Linked DNA regions of Homo sapiens: region 1 is linked to region 2. Evidence: promoter capture Hi-C in 16 types of primary human blood cells and fetal thymus (Javierre and others, 2016). All regions are on one chromosome and are shown on one strand. Each heading gives the region's core, a stretch centred on a gene start or on the middle of the fragment in contact. The rest is flanking DNA. Distances are from core to core; before and after follow the strand shown.

The links. The method cuts DNA at HindIII sites, captures the fragments that hold promoters and counts their contacts. A CHiCAGO score of 5 or more calls a contact.
Region 1: a contact is called between a fragment that was not itself captured here and the fragment with the promoter of HRG in region 2, in 1 of 17 cell types (naive B cells). The highest score is 5.0, in naive B cells.

The regions. Positions count from the first base shown.
Region 1 is chr3:187,168,739-187,172,759 of GRCh38, reverse strand. No RefSeq gene overlaps it. Among named protein-coding and RNA genes, the nearest start is that of RTP1, 27 kb to the left of the region's middle. RefSeq lists an enhancer at 1,416-1,917. The HindIII fragment of the contact is 1,735 bases long and covers 1,270-3,004 here.
Region 2 is chr3:186,664,036-186,667,882 of GRCh38, reverse strand. HRG (histidine rich glycoprotein) reads right to left here and starts at 1,869. Exons shown (of 7, transcript NM_000412.5): 1 at 1,669-1,869. The coding sequence starts at 1,851. It overlaps HRG-AS1 (HRG and FETUB antisense RNA 1), which reads left to right and starts at 2,249. Exons shown (of 3, transcript NR_187317.1): 1 at 2,249-2,304. The HindIII fragment of the contact is 4,199 bases long and covers 50-3,847 here.

The DNA of each region.
Region 1 (4,021 bases), core at 888-3,387, 500 kb before region 2:
CTTTTTATAAAAAAGTTTAAAGTAGCTTTCAAAGATGCATACAACATAATAATATGTTCTATTTTTAAAACAGTCAAAAATATCTAACAAAATAATACATGCATTTCCCTTTGACCCAGCAATCCTATGTCTAGAAATTTATGCCTAACATATGTTGACAAAAACAGAAAATGATATACACAAATCGCTATTCAGTACTATGTTGTTTGTAGCAGTCGGAATTGGAAACAACCTAAACTGTACGGCATACCTTACCTATGGTAAGATACAAGAGGAATAAAATATGAAACACCACCCAGTAAAGAACTATGGAGCTAAACAAAAGAATGAGGATAATCTCTATAAACCATTATGGAGTGATATCCAGGATAGCCTCTCAACTAAAAAACAAAAAAAGGAAAAGAAAAAACCAAGGGGCAGAACTGTATATAAAGATTGCTACCTTTCCTCGAAGGATGAAAGATACATATTTGACTATATTAAAAATAAATGGAAAGATAAGTTAAAAACTAAGGAATATTATTGTTCACTGGGGAGGAGGGAACAGGGTAGAGGAGACACAGGTAGAACACAGATATTTCTAAATGTGCTTTGTTGTGTTGTGTTGTTTTGGGTCCATGTTATTTTTTACATAATTATAAAACAAAAAAATTGAATTTTTAAAAATTCTGAAAACTTGGGGAAAAAATTAACCTAACATTATGAAATCTGTGGCTTACTCAATGGTGAATTATTTCAAATGACTTTAAAACATAATAATTTGACTGTTTCCATATATCTCATGGAGGCTGAAGTGTGGGGATGGGGAGTAATTACAGTGTTATTATTTTTATTTTAATAGGGTAAGTAACACATTGTATTAGTGCTTCTATTAATGTTACTGGGAACCAAGATTTTTATGGTAATCAAAAAGAGATTGGAAATACATAAAATCTAAGATGGTAAATAAAAATTCCTATTATCTGAATTTGAATTGGAAATATAAGTATTATATCATAATGAAATTGTATTGCCCATAAAAATTATGAACTTCCTAACTTTGTCTATTACACAGACCTGAAAGAAATAAATCATCAATCCATTAGCAACAAGTACCTCTCAGCACCTGGATCACCAAAAGTGATCAGAACTTTCTGGAAAAATAATTCCTTCAGATATAAGTCAATAAATGTATAAAATGAGCCTGGAATATTTTCTTGTACCAGATTTCAAAAATTCCTATTGTCATGTCAAAAGACAAAAGGCAAATGAAACTAACCTGAAGAAGCTTTCACTGGCCAAAAACAAAATAATTGGATCATCAAAAAGAATAATGGCCACAATTCATTGAAGTACATCAAATATGCTAAAAATCCATAAATTAATAATGATATTTTAAATAAAAAAAACCAACTATTTATTTCAAAAATAGGCAAGGGAAAAATATTACATATTTATCTTGGCTTCCTTATGTAATCTGCATTTTGTGATAACCAAATAATAGTTGAGGGGAAGCTATTCTTTAGAGAAGAATTACAATTAATAAAAGAAAAGGGGCCGAGGCGCAGTGGTTCACACCTGTAATCTCAGCACTTTGGGAGGCCAAGTAGGGAGATCACTTGAGGTCAGGAGTTTGAGACCAGCCTGTCCAATGTGGTGAAACCCCATCTCTACTAAAAATACAAAAAAATCAGCTGGGCCTGGTGGAGCACACTGGTAATCCCAGCTACTCGCGAAGCTGAGGCATGAGAATTACTTGAACCCAGGTGGTGGGGGTTGCAGTGAGCTGAGATTGCGCCACTGAACTCCAGCCTGGGTGACAGAGCAAGACTCTATCTCAAAAAGTAAATAAATAAAAAATAAAAGGGAACAATAGGATCAGAATATCACTATTTTGCAGTCCTAATGAAATAATGATAAAGAAAAAAATCTAAATCTGCTAAACTCATTAATTAAGATGTTGTGGGGAACTTTATAGTGGATGGGTCAGGCTGACACCATCTGATCTTACTGATCAATTAAGAAAAGAAAGGCAATCAGACATCACGTGTCTCCTAATATAACGCTGCAGGAACAGTCCAACACTAGCACTGAAATAGTCACATTAAAAAATCCAAATCTGGCTGGGTGCGGTGGCTCACGCCTATAATCCCAGCACTTTGAGAAGCCAAAGTGGGTGTATCACGAGGTCAGAAGTTCGAGAACAGCCTGACCAACATGATGAAACCCTGTCTCTACTAAAAATACAAAATTTAGCTGGGCATGGTGGCGCGTGCCTGTAATCCCAGCTACTCAGGAGCCTGAGGCAGGAGAATCGCTTGAACCCGGGAGGCAGAGGTTGCAGTGAGCCTAGATCGTGCCACTGCACTCCAGCCTGGGTGACAGAGTGAGACTTCCAAAAAAAAAAAAAAAAAAAACATACCTGATCAGGCCTGTAGATAGTCTAGAGGAAATACGAAGTATGAGGAAACGTCTCAGACAAAAACCACAAGAATGTATCACCAAAGTCCAAAATGTGAGCAATTCTACAAGATACATGATTTTTTTTCCAAATAAATAAATGGTAAAGAAGAAGAGGGGGAAGGAGGACTGCTATAAAGTTAAAAAGAATTGAGACGCACAACCCGATGTGATATGTGAACTTTCTGACTGAATCAAATCAACTATAAAAAGGCATGTTTGAGATAACACAGACAACTTAATTATGTACTAAATTAGATGATTTTAAGGAATTCTTTTTGAAGAATTATGAGGAATTATGAAGAATGATTATGAAGAATTTCAAGGAGTTGCATTTGGAAATTTGAAATTTAAAAAAAATTTTAATAGTAAAAACAAAAGCAGAAGGTAAAAGGGAATAAAACTGTAAATAAGATGGATCCAGGACTGGATTTGGGGCATAGATGTATACATGTGTTATAGGAGTACCACAAAACAAGCTCTATGTTTGCAGCTACCAATGTGAGAAGGGAGAGAAAAATAGTGAGAAAGTGCTCAGTACCTACTCAGCAAAAACAAACAAGCTTTTCAGGTAGAGCATCATTCTACTGCTAAGTCCTGAGCAAATCCTCTGCCCTGGATCATCACTTAAAACAAATCCAGGACAGCTTCCCTTTTTAATTTGATTGGCCAAATATTTAAATCCTTTACTCCATACCCCAACCACCTGAACTATATAAGACCAAAAGACCCCTCATCATTTAAGAAACATTTGTTGAACTCTACTATATTTCAGTATGTGTGGTAAGAGTAAAGTATTTATTTACAAAGAAGGCAGACTCTGCTGTCAGTGAACTTAGAGTCTATAGTGATTTGCTGGCATTCATACAACCATCACATCATGCCAAGATAGATAGGTCATGAGAGCGAATAACAAAGATCTCTGGAAGCGGAAGGATTCCTCTTCAAATTCTCAGGACAAGTTAAGGTTTCTTACAGAAACACCATAACTGTGTGTTGTTAGCACAAGATGGGTTTTGCTGGGGGTGACATTCCACATAAACCAAAGGCAGAGGTGGTCTGCACATCCTTCTGGGGTGCTTAGTACATGAGCTCCCCCCTTATCCAAGGTTTTGCTATCCATGGTTTCAGTTACTCATGGTCAACCATGGTTTGAAAATAGGTGAACACAGAGCAATAAGATATTTTGAGAAAGAGAGACCACATTTACATAATTTTTATTACAGTATATCTAATCATTGTTCTATTTTATTATTGTTAATTTCTTACTGTGTGTAAGTTTTGTTTGTTTGTTTGTTTGTTTCATTTTTTGAGATGGAGTCTTGCTCTGTCACCCAGGCTGGAGTGCAGTGGCGCGATCTCGGCTCACTGAAACCTCCACCTCCCAGGTTCAAGCGATTCTCCTGCCTCAGCCTCCTGAGTAGAACTACAGGCATGCACCACCACACCCAGCTAATTTTTGTATTTTTAGTAGAGATGGGGTTTCACCGTGTTGGTCAGGATGGTATCAATCACTTGACCTTGTGATCTGCCCACCTTGGCTTCCCAAAGTGCTGGGATTACAGGCGTAAGCCACCACACT
Region 2 (3,847 bases), core at 620-3,119:
CTCTAGTCCAGTTTAGGTAGGCGTGTAATCTAAGCGAAGACAGTAAGCTTGTTTCACCTCAAGACAAGCCCACAGGCTTGGCTCCTACCTGATGCCTGCTCCAGAGCCCACATGGAACTTCTGGAACCCACCTGCTTATATTCAATGGCTCCCTAACACCCTTCTTCCTGATTCCATACCCACCTAGAAGTGGTGGTGCCAGGAATTCACCAGGAACACATTTACCCAGACCTGTTCAAATCCTACCCATGCATCATTACACAGCAGAAGCCTCCTCCCATCCAGTCTTACTAGATCTCCCCTCATTAAATTGCTCCAGTACATTTACCACTCCTTTGGTCACTTGGCTATTGTTGGGGCTCAGAACATGGTATCTCAAAGTATGGTACTTTTGGCGTGCTGAGTCCTTTGAACTGAAGAAAATGGGAAGGGCCTCAGAAGCCAGATCTGTCTGACCTTCTGCCCTTTGTTCTCCTACTCTGCTTTCTCCCCCAAGGCAAGCCATAGAAACTAAAATTTCTCTTCTCCAGGACAGTCACAGATGGTAGAATCCCTCTCCCCGAAAGCATCCATAAATCCTAAAATATGAATCTAACCTTCCCCCTGTGTCTTTCTTTGTAGGAGCTGGCCATAAAGACATTCTCTGACCTACTCTGTTTGATAGTAGGTCCTCAGATCCGCATTCCAAAGGGATCCTGTCCCATACTTGGGAGCAAGAAATGCCACACAGAGAGGCCATGAAGAACTCAAACAGAGAGGCCTTGCTGGGTCCTTCTTTCAGTCTATGACTCTTAGATTACAGCCTTTTGTCCCATCACACTTCTGCATTCTGCACAGCCTTTGTGAATTCTAAGTATGCAAGTGGCCAGTTTCTTTGGATATCTGAGTCTTCATTTATGAAGACTCCAGTGTCAGGTAAACCTTGGATTAAATAAATTTGTATGTTTTCTTCTTCTTCTTTTTTTTTTTTGAGATGGAGTCTAGCTTTGTTGCCCAGGCTGGAGTGCAGTGGCATGATCTCGACTCACTGCAACCTCTGCCTCCCGAGTTCAAGCGATTCTTCTGCCTCAACCCCCTGAGTAGCTGGGATTACAGGCGTGCACCACCATGCCCAGCTAGTTTTTGTATTTTTAGTAGAGACAGGGTTTCACCATGTTGGCCAGGCTGGTCTTGAACTCCTGACCTCATGATCCGTCCGCCTTGGCCTCCCAAAGTGCTGGGATTACAGGCGTGAGCCACCGCGCCTGGCCTTGTCTACCAGTTTTATTTCAGGCTCAGTTAGGAGCCTTAGGAGGGTTGAGAAAACTTTTCCTTCTCTCTAGTTTATCCTAGTAACTTACACTGTTTGCCTGTATGTGCCAGTGTATTATTATTTCCTGGAGGCCAAGGCCCATAGCTTATTCTAATGTTTCTCTGGCAGTCCTTAGCATGTAACTGGGCTCAGCATAAATGCTTATATGTACCCACAAATCGAATCATAGTTGCGGGTACACTAATAACAAATATTAGTTTGAAGGAAAAAAGAACAATTTAGAGCAGCCGCAGAAGCCAAACAAAAAACTCTGACCAAAGCCATTCATTGTGCAAAGCAGTAAGCCTAGGGGGTAGAGTCACATTTGCCCCCGTGAGTAATCTCCCAACTCAGCTCTGCCATTGGCAATTCCTCACCACTCTGTCCAAGTGGGCATCAGCAATCCGCAGCAATTGGAAAAGGTAGCCATCCCGTCGCCTTTTATTGATCAGGTCTAGAGCTTTCTCAGCCTCCGGCTCAACAGCACTGCAGTCAGTGGGACTCACGGCACACGAATACTGCAATGTGATCAAAAGCAGTGCTGCAATGAGTGCCTTCATTTTGTTAAACCATCCCTTGCTATGATCTGCCACTGCAGAGAATTTTATACAGACTTTCTGAAACACACGCAATTGATTAAACAAAACCTTGATACATTTTTGTTGTGTAACTGAGGGTGTTCACCTTGACCCTGGGTTCAAATAACCATCAACAAGCTGTAAATGATTAGTGGGTCCTGGGGGCAGAAAGCTGAGAAATGCTGATGAGTGGGTGGAACTGTGATCTGCACAAATCTGGATTTTTCTAGTAGATAGCAGATCTAAAGTACGTCTTTGAATATAAGCAGTGCCTATGTTGGTGTAGGGGGTGGGGCTAGGGGTAATTTTCCTCCATCTGCCTGCCTGTCTCAGCTGGAAATCTCCATCATCAGTCAGTGGACTGATGGATCATGGCACTAAAACTCCTCAGTAGAAGGCAGCTGCATTATCTAAGCGGGGGAACATGTTAAACAGGTACCATTATAAAAGGAATGACTTCAGGTAAAATAGAACAATGAAGAGGCTGTCGTTTTGAAGTCAAATCTGAATTTCTCACCTGGCTCTATTACTTTCTTACTGTGTAATGCTGGGTAAGCAACAAAACTTCTCTGATAGTTCCCTCATTTACGAAATATGGATTGATACCTCTTGGCAGGCTTGTGTGATAATTAAATAAGAAATCAGGCTGGGTGCGGTGGCTCATGCCTGTAATCCCAGCACTTTGGGAGGCCAAGGCAGGCTGATCACAAGGTCAGGAGATTGAGACCAGCCTGGCCAACATGGTGAAACCCTGTCTCTACTAAAAATACAAAAAATTAGCTGGGCATGGTGGCACATGCCTGTAATCGCCGCTACTTGGGAGGCTGAGGCAGGAGAATCACTTGAACCCGGGAGGCGGAGATTGCAGTGAGCTGAGATCGCGCCACTGCACTCCAGCTCGGGCGACAGTGTGAGATTCCATCTAAAAAAGAAAGAAAGAAAAAAAGAAAGCAACCAGTATAATTCTTGGCATAGAGTAGATGCTGAATAAGTGATGCTATTTATTATTAGTGTGCCTGCAAAGAAGTTGGGGACACCTCATGCCACCCCAATTCCCTGCAAAAAGAATTGATTCACGTGGAAGAGGATGGTGGTGAGAGTAAGAGTCAAATAGTTGGATGCCCATCCCACTGTTAGAAGGGATCAGCAGGGGGGGACTGGGCTATGATACAGCTGACCCCCTACCTTCACACTTCAGAAGAAACCCGTATACCTATATGCAACCCTCAGACCAGCAGAGCCAGCAGCATCAGAAGGGACCAGAGGGAATCAGCCTAGGTTCCGTCCTCACTGCCAAGAAACAGCCAGTTAGGCAGCATCTCCATTCCTCCCTGTTCTATCCGCAGTGAGTGTCTGTGAGAGTCTGCAGTCATGTCTCTCAGACTCGGCTTCATGTTAGAATCACCCCAGGAGCTTTAAAAAGTCCTGATGTCAAGGACTCCTCCAGGACAATTTAATCAGAATCTCTGGGAGTGGACTTTGGTATTGGTAGTTTTTAAACTCCTAGGTAATCCAGTGTGTGCAGTCAAGGTTGAGAATTACTGGGATTCTAGAGTGAACTGAAGAGAGGGAAAGGATTTGAAGACAGAAAGAAAAGGGAGGTGTATGAAAAGTAGATCTCATTTCCACAAGTCACAGGGTTAATGAGTGCAACAGGTTTTGAATAATGTTTGCAATTGAACTTTTAATGTCAGTAACCCTGGCTTTTAAATACCCAATGGGACCAGTCCAGTGCAACAGAAAATGACAGGAATGTATGGAATCTGGTCAAGGTGTTAAGAGGCTCCAACCCAGTGGGGAAGGGGAAAGCTATTGATTAAAACAAAAACTATTTTGAGTTTTTGTTATTATGAGTTGAGCTCCTTAATGAAGTTTTTCTATTATGGCTATATTGGCTGCACCCTAAATGGGGTGTCCTGGGTGAACCAAATGCTGGTGTAGGGAAAGGAATGGGAATGTTGAGGGGATGGGAAGAGGC